Regions from separate parts of the Homo sapiens genome. Here all the other regions are linked to region 3. Evidence: promoter capture Hi-C in 16 types of primary human blood cells and fetal thymus (Javierre and others, 2016). All regions are on one chromosome and are shown on one strand. Each heading gives the region's core, a stretch centred on a gene start or on the middle of the fragment in contact. The rest is flanking DNA. Distances are from core to core; before and after follow the strand shown.

What was found. Contacts are between HindIII fragments. The CHiCAGO score rates a contact against its expected background, and 5 or more counts as called.
Region 1: a contact is called between a fragment that was not itself captured here and the fragment with the promoter of C4BPB in region 3, in 2 of 17 cell types (monocytes and naive CD4 T cells). The highest score is 6.6, in monocytes.
Region 2: a fragment that was not itself captured here is called in contact with the fragment with the promoter of C4BPB in region 3 in 9 of 17 cell types (monocytes, total B cells, naive CD4 T cells and 6 more); the score reaches 11.9 in monocytes.

Annotation. Positions count from the first base shown.
Region 1 is chr1:207,367,222-207,370,645 of GRCh38, forward strand. No RefSeq gene overlaps it. Among named protein-coding and RNA genes, the nearest start is that of CD55, 47 kb to the left of the region's middle. The HindIII fragment of the contact is 328 bases long and covers 1,948-2,275 here.
Region 2 is chr1:207,349,540-207,352,938 of GRCh38, forward strand. The region is part of intron 9 of CD55 (CD55 molecule (Cromer blood group)); the gene reads left to right. Among named protein-coding and RNA genes, the nearest start is that of CD55, 30 kb to the left of the region's middle. The HindIII fragment of the contact is 2,902 bases long and covers 218-3,119 here.
Region 3 is chr1:207,087,029-207,090,142 of GRCh38, forward strand. It overlaps C4BPB (complement component 4 binding protein beta), which reads left to right and starts at 1,832. Exons shown (of 7, transcript NM_001017365.3): 1 at 1,832-1,918; 2 at 2,454-2,561. The coding sequence starts at 2,504. The HindIII fragment of the contact is 12,500 bases long and covers 1-3,114 here.

The DNA of each region.
Region 1 (3,424 bases), core at 862-3,361, 280 kb after region 3:
ATTATATATGCTATATGTATTATATGTTATGTCATATATAATTTATTGAATATATTTATAGTATATGAAACATATATAGTCTGTCTTCTTGGAAAAGCATACAAACAATGAGACTCCAGATCCAGATTTCTTTTTTTTTTTGAGACAGAGTCTTACTCTGTCACCCAGGCAGGAGTGTGGTGGTGTGATCTTCGCTCACTGCAACCTCTGCCTCCTGAGTTCAAGCAATTCTCCTGCCTCAGCCTTCGGAGTAGCTGGGATTACAGGCAAGCACCACTACGCCTGGCTAATTTTTGTATTCAGATCCAGATTTCTAAATGTCTTTCTCCAGTTAAAAAAAAAATAGGGCTCCTGGGAGAAATGGCTGATTTCTGGGCTAGGGTAGGGAAAGTAAAAGATGAACCTGGAAATATCTTGTGGTATCACAAATTAAGTGTTCTGAAAATAAGTGCTGAAAAAATTATTGTGACATGTCAAATGGATTCAGAAGCCAACATGAACAAGCTCCCACTGACCAAATCTGAAACAATTACAGCAAATAAATAAATAAATAACGATGGCAATGGATCATAGCACATAGAATAAAATAAGAATTTGAGTCCATACTGATATAATTGAATAATAAAGAGAAGAAAGACACCTTCTTTATAGCAAGATTCCAATTACCTACATGTAGTAAAAATGATGCAATTAGAAAGTCAGCATTTGGCAACCATCACAGTAATAATTATTTCAGGCAAGAATCAATGAATGCTAAATCAGTAAAAGTCTGATGAGAAATAATTATATACTCTTCAATTTTTTCTCCACAAAATACTTAATTGCAAATAATAACTTTGCGGAAGAAAAACCTGACAGACACTATTTTAGCCAAGTGATCAAAACTAACATCACTGATATTGGGACAAATAACACCTAGTTCCTCCTGATAGGATACATTGAAAAGAACTCTGTCATTTCTGTGTGATTGTTGCCAAAAATCATAATCTGAATCAAAATATGAGGAAGTATCCGAAAAAAGACAACTTGACCGTCATCCTACAAAATACCTCTTCCAGAGTGGAAAGGTAGTGAAAATCAAGTAGAAGAAGGGAAATAGAAATTTAAAAAATTAAGAAATGAAATAATAAAGGTAAGTGTAAAAATTAAAATAGAAAACAAAAATAATAGTGAAAATGAAATCAAAAGCTGGGTCTTTAAAAAAAATAAAATTGATAAACTTCCATTTAGATGGGTAAAGAATAAAGAGATAAGACAGAAATTGCCACCCATGAACTTTTAGTAATGCAACAGAATACATCACTCACTGCAGAGCATAATCATTGGAAGAAAAATATGAGAATATGGCAGGCAACTTTATGCCAATAAATTCAATAAACTGGGGATCACGATTATGATCAACATTCACTTTTGAAAGGGCCATGGAGGAAAATGAACCAGGAAGATCCTCCCTGGGGCAGAGCTACCACTGGATGAAATGAACAATTCATTGAAAGACACAAATTACCAAAACTAACCCAATAAGCAATATAAAACTTGAATTGCCCTATTAATTCAAGAAATTGCATTTTTAATTAAAAATCTTTCCAAAAAGAAAAATTCATGCCTAAATGGCTTCACTTGTAAACTCTAGCATTTAAGGAAGAAATAAAACCAATTGTACACAAACTCTTTGAGAAAATAGAAAATACTTCCAAACTCATTTCATGAGGCCAAATATATTAAAAAACTACAGACAAATATCCCTCATGAATATAGACACAAATATACTTAACAAAATTTTAACAAAACAAATTAGTATATGTAAAAGAATACTTACTATACATCATGATGGAATGAGGTTTATCTGGGGAGTGAAAGGTTGGTTTGACATCCAAAAATTAATCAATGTAATTCACCATATTAGAATAAAGAAGAAAATATAATCATTTCAATAAATGCAGGAAAAGCTTTTTGTAAAGTTCAACACTAATTTGTGATTTCAAAAAATCTATCAGCAAACTAAGAATAAAAGAAACATTTCTCTTAATCTAATTAAGGGCATCTTCAAAAACCTACATCTTTCACTGTACTCAATATTGAAAGCCTCAATGCTTTCTACCTAAGATAAGGAACAAGGCAGGGATATCTATTCTGCCATTTCTGTTCAACATTATACTGGAAGTTTTAGCCAGTGCAGTAAGGCAAGAAAAAGAAATGACAGTCAATAAATTGGAAAGGGAGAAGAAAGTCGTTTTTATTGGTAGATGACATGACCAAGTATTAATACATAGAAAGCTTAAAGAGTCTACTAGAACTAATAAGTGAATTTATTGAGGTCAGAATACAATGTTAATGTATAAAAATTATAATTTTATGTATTAGCAATGAACAATTAGAAAATGAATTTCGAAAACAACTTCATTTCCAACAGCATCCAAAAACATGTTAGAGATAAATTTTACAAAACATGGAAGATAGTTTCTTTTCCTGTGCAGAAGCGCTTTAGTTTAATTAGATCCCATTTTTCATAAAAAAAGAATGAGATCATGTCCTTTGCAGGGACATGAATGAAGCTGGAAGCCAACATTCTCAGCAAACTAACACAGGAACGGAAAACCAAACACCACATGTTTTCACTCATAAGTGGGAGTTCAACAATGAGAACAGATGGACACAGGGAGGGGAACATCACACACCAGGGCCTGTCAGGGAGTGGGGGGCAAGGAGAAGGAGAGCATTAGGACAAATACCTAATACATGCGGGGCTTAAAACCTAGATGACAGGTTGATGGCTGCAGCAAACCACCATGGCACATATATGCCTATGTAACAAACCTGCATGTTCTGCACATGTATCCCAGAACTTAAAGTAACATTTTTTAAAAACGGAAGAATTCTATTTAAAAAAAAAAAACTATAAATTTTGCTGAGAGAAATTACAGACTTAAGTAAATGTTATTAACATCATTTTCGTGGGTTGGAACACTCAATATTGTTAAGATAGCAATTCTCCACACATCAATTTATAACTCCAATAGATATTTTTAAAAAGTGATTCCAAATTTATATTAAAATGAATTGCCTCTCTTAAACCTCCCTTATAATTTTTTTAAAAGATTTCAGAAGACTAAACACTATATTACACAGACTCCATTGAAGCTAGGAGTCTAGGAGAAAATTTGATCTACAACGTAACAAGCAGTTATGTGATATTTATTTGGAGGTCAGAATTAAGGTGTAGGTCAACTTCCTACTGCTGCTTCTATTTCCAGCAAGATAAGATCAGCCACAGGTGATTGTGGTGGTCTTTTTCTACTTTCATTTATCTAGTCATCAACTTTATGGGAATAAAAATCTGCGGTAGTGTGTCTGGAATTGCTGGGTTCTTGGTCTCGCTGACTTCAAGAATGAAGCCGCAGACCCTCACGGTGAGTGTTACAGT
Region 2 (3,399 bases), core at 419-2,918, 260 kb after region 3:
TTTGTTTGTATTGTCTCTGTCTTCTTTGTTTTGTATTTCTCTATAGAGATCATTCACCTCCCTGGTTAGCTGTATTCATAGGTATTTTATCCTTTTGTGGCTATTGTGAATAGGATTGCATTCTTGATTTGGCTGTCAGCTTGACATTGTTGGTGTATAGAAATGCTTCTGATTTTTGTACCCCGAAGCTTTACTGATGTTGTTTAACAGTTCTAAAAGCTTTTGGGCAGACTATGGAGTATTCTAGGTTTAAACTCATATCATCTGTGAAGAGAGATAGTTTACTTCCTCTCTTCCTATATGGATGCCTTTTATTTCCTTGCCTGATTGCTGTGGCTAGGATTTCCAGTACCATGTTGAATAGGAATGATAATAATGGACATCCTTGTCTTGTACTGGTTTTCAAGGTGAATGCTTCCAGCTTTTGCTCATTCAGTATGATGTTGGCTGTGGGTTTTTCCTGGCGGCTCTTATTATTTTGTGGTATGTTCCTTTGATGCCTAGTTTGTTGATGACTTTTAACATGAAGGGATGTTGAATGTTGTCAAAAGCCTTTTCTACAACAATTGAGATGATCATGTGGTTTTTTTGTTTGTAGTTCTGTTTATGTGATGAATCACATTTATTGATTTGGATATGTTGAGCCAACCTTGCATCCCAGGAATAAAGCCTACTTGATCGTGGTAAGTTAGGTATTTGATGTGCTGCTGGATTTGATCTGCTAGTATTTTGTTGAGGATTTTTGCATTTACTTTCATCAGGGATGTTGGCCTGAAGTTTTCTTTTTTTGTCCTGTCTCTTTGCCAGATTTTGGTATCAGTGTGATGCTGGCCTTATAGAATGAGGAGTCCCTCCTCCTTGATTTTTGGCATAGTTTCAGTATGATTGGTACCGGCTCTTGTTTGTATGTTTGGTGGAATTTGTCTGTGAATCCATCTGGTACAGGGCTCTTTCTGGTTGGTAGGTTTTTTAAATTACTGATTCAATTTAAGAACTTGTTATTGGTCTGTTCAGGTATTTAATTTCTTCCTGGTTCAATCTTAGGAGGTTGTATTTTTCCAAGAATTTACCATTTCTTCTACGTTTTCTAGTTTATGTACATAGAGGTGTTCAAAATAGTCTCTGAGGGTGTTTTGTATTTCTGTGGGGTTGGTGGTAATGTCCCCTTTGTCATCTGAGATTGTGTTTATTTGGATGTTCTCTCTCTTTATTAATCTAGCTAGTTGTCTATCAATCTTATTTATTCTTTCAAAAAACCAGCTTTGGTTTTGTTGATCTTTTGTATGGATTTTTGCATCTCAATTTTATTCAGTTCAGCTCTGATTTTGGTTATTTTTTTTCTTCTGCTAGCTTTTGGGTTGGTTTGCTCTTGTTTTTTCTACATCCTCTAGAGGTGATGTTACTTTGTTAATTTGAGATTTTTCTAACATTTTGATGTAGGTGTTTAATGCTACAAACTTTCCTCTTGACATTGTTCTGGCTGTGTCCCAGACACTCTGGTATGTTGTATCTTTGTTTTCACTAGTTTCAAAGAATTTCTTGATTTCTGCCTTAATTTTCAGAATGCCAAAAGTCATTCAGGATTAGGTTGTTTAATTTCCATGTTATTGTATAGTTTTAAGAGATCTTCCTGGTATTGATTTATATTTTATGCTGTGGCCTAAGAGTATGGTTAGTATGATTTTGGTTTTTTGAATTTGTTTAAAATTGCTTTATGGTTGAGCATGTGGTCAATCTTAGAGTATGTGCTATGTGCAGATGAGAAGAATGTATATCCTGTTGTTCTTGGGTGTAATGTTATGTAGATGTCTGTTAAGTCCATTTGGTCAAGTGTCAAGTTTAGGTCATGAATATCTTTGTTAGTTTTCTGCCTTGATTATGTGTCTAACATTGTCAATGGGGTGTTGAAGTCTCCCACTATATTGTGTGGTTATTTCCATCTCTTCATAGGTCTTTAAGAACTTGTCTTATGAATCTGGATGATCCAGTGTTGGATCTGAAAAGAGTAATAAAAACATTATCATTACTATCATTATTATTTATTGTGGTTATTTTATATTTTGAATGAACTTCTAAGCTAAAAGATTTATCTTGAAAGATTCCAACTGTTGGAATTCACTTTGTTTTAAATAGAAATAAATGTGTTTCAAATGAAAGTCTGATGATTTAATGATCACAAAAGTGATGAGTTTAATAAATGAGTTTTTTCTCACCTGCTCAATGGCACTCAATGAAGGTTTGAAATGCCTTTTTTTCCTGAAATTCTTTAAGTATTATACCCTTTGATTTTCTAGAAAACTTTCCTTAGTCGGCATTCCAGCTTGTGTTAAAAAATAAAGAGGAAGTCCTTCCTTCTTAAACTGGACATATGGCAACATTTTTTGTGTGTGATTTCATATTTGTAGGACATAAACCTGAAAATTATATTCATTAAATTTATTATGTGAATGAGGTTACTCTTCTTTAAAGATAAATTAACTCTACTGCAAGAAAATTGTTTCATCAATTACACTGCAATGTAAGTAAAATGATACAGATGATCTTTGAATTTTGGAAGTATTTGATTTTTTTTTCCTATTCTGCTAAGGAAGAAAGACTGACTAATGTTACAGAACTTTCTAATTTGCCTTGTAAATGAAGCATGTGTTGTGAATTTTAAATCTTTTCTTCCGTTGGCTTTGTATAAGTGTTTCCCAATTTTTTTTTGTGGGGGGTGGGGGGTGCGTTAATTCTTGCTCTCTTCTCACCAAAGACCTTTTTAGACATTTTTTTTTGATCATCCTCCACCACACATATACTGTAAATCAGTTTATGTATCACATATATATCTGCACTCTGTACTTAAAAAAGGAAAATTTTTTTTTAACTTTCATCAGGTATCACCCCCATTGAGAATGCTTGCTTTCTGTTGGTTTTGTTTTTATTGTTTTTAAAGACAAAATCATATAGAAGAAAGAGCTTAACCTCTGGAGTCAAACCAGTCGGATGTTGGTTTGAATCCTGTTTTTTTCACTTAGTAATTATTCAACCCAAGTGATTAAGTGATTAACTTAATCTCTCTGAGACTCAGTTTTCTCATTTAAGAGATAGAGATTGTGATTCCTATGTGAAGTATTTGAAGCTTAATGTGATTAGTGGGTATGAAAACTCCAAGCACAGTCCTAAAAGTTGAATAAATATTAGCTTAAGGAAGTCACTGCATGCAATCACTATTATTTTCCTAAGCTGGATTTCTGATAATTTCATCACTCCCTCTGGCCACACCAAAGAATAAGAACAGTCTTTTATTCAGGTAATATTTACATGTTTTCTCTGTGGCAAGTACTGTACTGATTTTTTTTAATGTATTATTTCATATTCTTCTCACAACAATCTTATAATGTAGCATTTTTATCCCAT
Region 3 (3,114 bases), core at 582-3,081:
TATCTGAGAACAATGCAAATGATTCCTGGTTATAGTAGAGCAAATATATTTTGTCCATTTTGTTTTAATTACTTTCCACCAGGTAGAAAAGCTAATTGCAAATATTACAGTTTGTTACTCTGTAGGATATTAACCAGTTTTGTATCTATTGGAAAGGTCACTTCAGAATGCTTTTGACTGACTGACTATATGCATTCCTATTCCTCAAATTCTTCTTTGAACCAGTTGTAGCATCTGAATGTTTCCTCATTAATTAATGAGTTGAATTAAATCTTTGATATATATTCATCTTATATTTACTTGTGTCATATTTTTAACTTTTTGAAAATCATGTCTTAGAGGGTGCTTACACTATAGGAATTTGCATATTAGTTAAGAAAAGATAAGACATAAAAAATCATAAGGCAGCATGTGATAAATGGCAAGTGATCATATGGATTTTGGGGGCTGTGGTAGAGTTTCTGGATGACAGTTTTTTTCATTTATTTCTGCATTACTTTCATTCATTTAACAGACAACTGCTTTGCAATATGAAGCACCGTGGAAGGGAATACAAATACAAATCAGACACAAACCCTGTCCTGGAGTTAGCAGTTTCCTGTGGGAATAAAGGGGAGGAAAAAAACACCTTTCCTCTACCATATTGTATTCAGTGGCTGGGACCTGCAAATTAGACTAAGACAGATTAACAGGAGAGAAAATTCTATTTATACATGTAACTTGAGTACATGTGGGAAAACTCAGTGATAAGTAATTCAAAAAGTTGGTTAGAATTGGGGCTTATACATCATCTTAATAGGTGAAGGTGGGGAGAAGAAAGGCACTTACAAGAAAACAGATTATTGGCCGGGTGCGGTGGCTCATGCCTATAATCCCAGCACTTTGGGAGGCCAAGGCGGGTGGATCATTTGAGGTCAGGAGTTCAAGACCAGTTTGGCCAACATGGTGAAACCCCATCTCTACTAAAAATACAAAAATTAGCCAGGCGTGGTAGCGCATGCCTGTAATCTCAGCTACTCGGGAGACTGAGGCACAAGAATGGCCTGAACCTGGCAGGTGGAGGTTGCAGTGAGCCAAGATCATGCCAAGACACCATCTCAAACAAAAAAGAAAACAGATTATTTTTTGGAAAGGCAAGTGGGTTTTCAGGGGAAAAGTAGGAAATTAGAAAGTTTTGTGATAATGTTTGTGTATATAAGTACGAGTGTTCTTTCTGTCTCCTTCAAGGCCATGAAATTTCTCTGGAGAAGGAATTTGAAATATGTTTTACTCATGCTCTCCCCTCCAGGATAGACCTACCCTGAAAAGGAATTTATGGCAACCTTATCTCCAAGGTTGCTGCCTTTAGTCAGATAAGGAAAGCCCCCAAAATCTCTGTTCCTTTCCATATCACTGAATCTCAAATATCTTCAGCTTAAAAGAATCTTAACGCCAAATATTTGGGGGTGGCATATCCTGATTCCTTTCAGGAGAAAGACATAGATTAATCATCACAAACAGTAGTAATGGATGGAGAAGAGAAGAACATTTGCAACCTTACTGTGTCCTTAATGCTTTATTATTCTATTAAAACCTGAAATTTTGTAGGAATTTTTCCCCAGTTTCATAATTACAGCACAGAGAACCAACCAAGGGTTATAGTAGTCACAAGCAAGATGATATGGGATCCCTCAAAACAATTTTACATGCCTTAATTCCTGAGACCAAAGCATTCTCCTCACCTCTCTCTTTACTCATTTGGTTAACTCTGGACTCAGGCCAAATCCTGTCCCTGGAAGAGCCACAAAGTAGGAAGCCTGGGTACAGGCCTGGCAAGCGAGAACAATGTGTCACTGCAGGACTTTGGAGCTCTCAGCTTTGGAGTCAGTTAAGACCAGTTCCTTGCTGGGAAGCCCTAACTCTGGAGGGACAGAGACAGGTAAGGTTAGTTTACTTCCTTGAGCTTTCGTCTTCAGTGCTGCTTACAGCCTTAGGATATCTGGTATTCAGGAAAGGAGGATGAGGTAGCATTCAAAATTGTGTTCTACCTGGGCAAGAACCAGGGATTGACAGCCCGTTCTCTTTCCCCAGTGCTGGCCAGAGTTACAGAAGTTGGACTGTAAACATTGGCAACTATTGACAGAAGTCAAGGTCATGGCAAGACCATTTGGCCCATGTTTGTTGGGGAAGGATAAGCCTGCGTTTCAAAAAGACTGGTCAACTGGATTTGCATTCCCAGAAACCAGGAAATTTCTGAAACTGAGTTTTAAACCTGGCAACTCTTTTACCATCCCTTTGTATTTTTGCAGTTCCTCCCTATACCAGCTTCCTTACAGCTGTTCTGATTTCCTGTCGTAAGATTTTTTCTTTTCATTTTCTCCAGGGAGGGTAAATCAATATAACCTCTTCTCTAGAGAGGAGGTGGTTAGGTTGGTCTTAAGCAGTGTTAGAAGATCTATTTTTTTTCAAACCAGGTGTCTGAGCTGGGTGAATTCCAGCCTGGGGAGAGGACTTTGATCACCAGATGTTTTTTTGGTGTGCGTGCTGTCTTATGGTTGCGTGGCGAGTTTCTGCTTCAGATGGTACGTATGCTTTCCTTCAACTCAGCTTACAGGCATTTGGTGTCCTTTTGCGGTGTTTTGAGGAACTCTGTCTAGGGCTTTAAGGAAGTTTACATTTATAATATCTTTATTCTTCTATTGAAAAATCTCAAATTGGCCTAATGCTCTGCACTCAATAGGAGCTTAGTGTACATTTAATGATAACCCTGATCTCTGAAGTGGGTGGTTACTGTTTTTTTACTTTCCCTTTCTGTTCTGGGAGCAAAAAGAGTACCAATTTCAAAATCCTGGGAGGTCTTACTTGTTATAAACTCCAGGATCGCTATTTGTGTAGGGGACTATTTGTTTAGAAGTGGACAACTTGTGGTTGAATTTGAGTAAAATTCCTGTTATACTTTTGAAAATAAAACTTCGGAATTCCGGCCGGGCGCAGCGGCTCAAGCCTGTAATCCCGGCACTTTGAGAGGCCGAGGTGGGCGGATCACGAGGTCAAGAGATCGAGACCATCCTGGCTAAGACAGTGAAACCCCGTCTCTGCTGAAAATACAAAAAATTAGCTGGGCGTGGTGGCGGG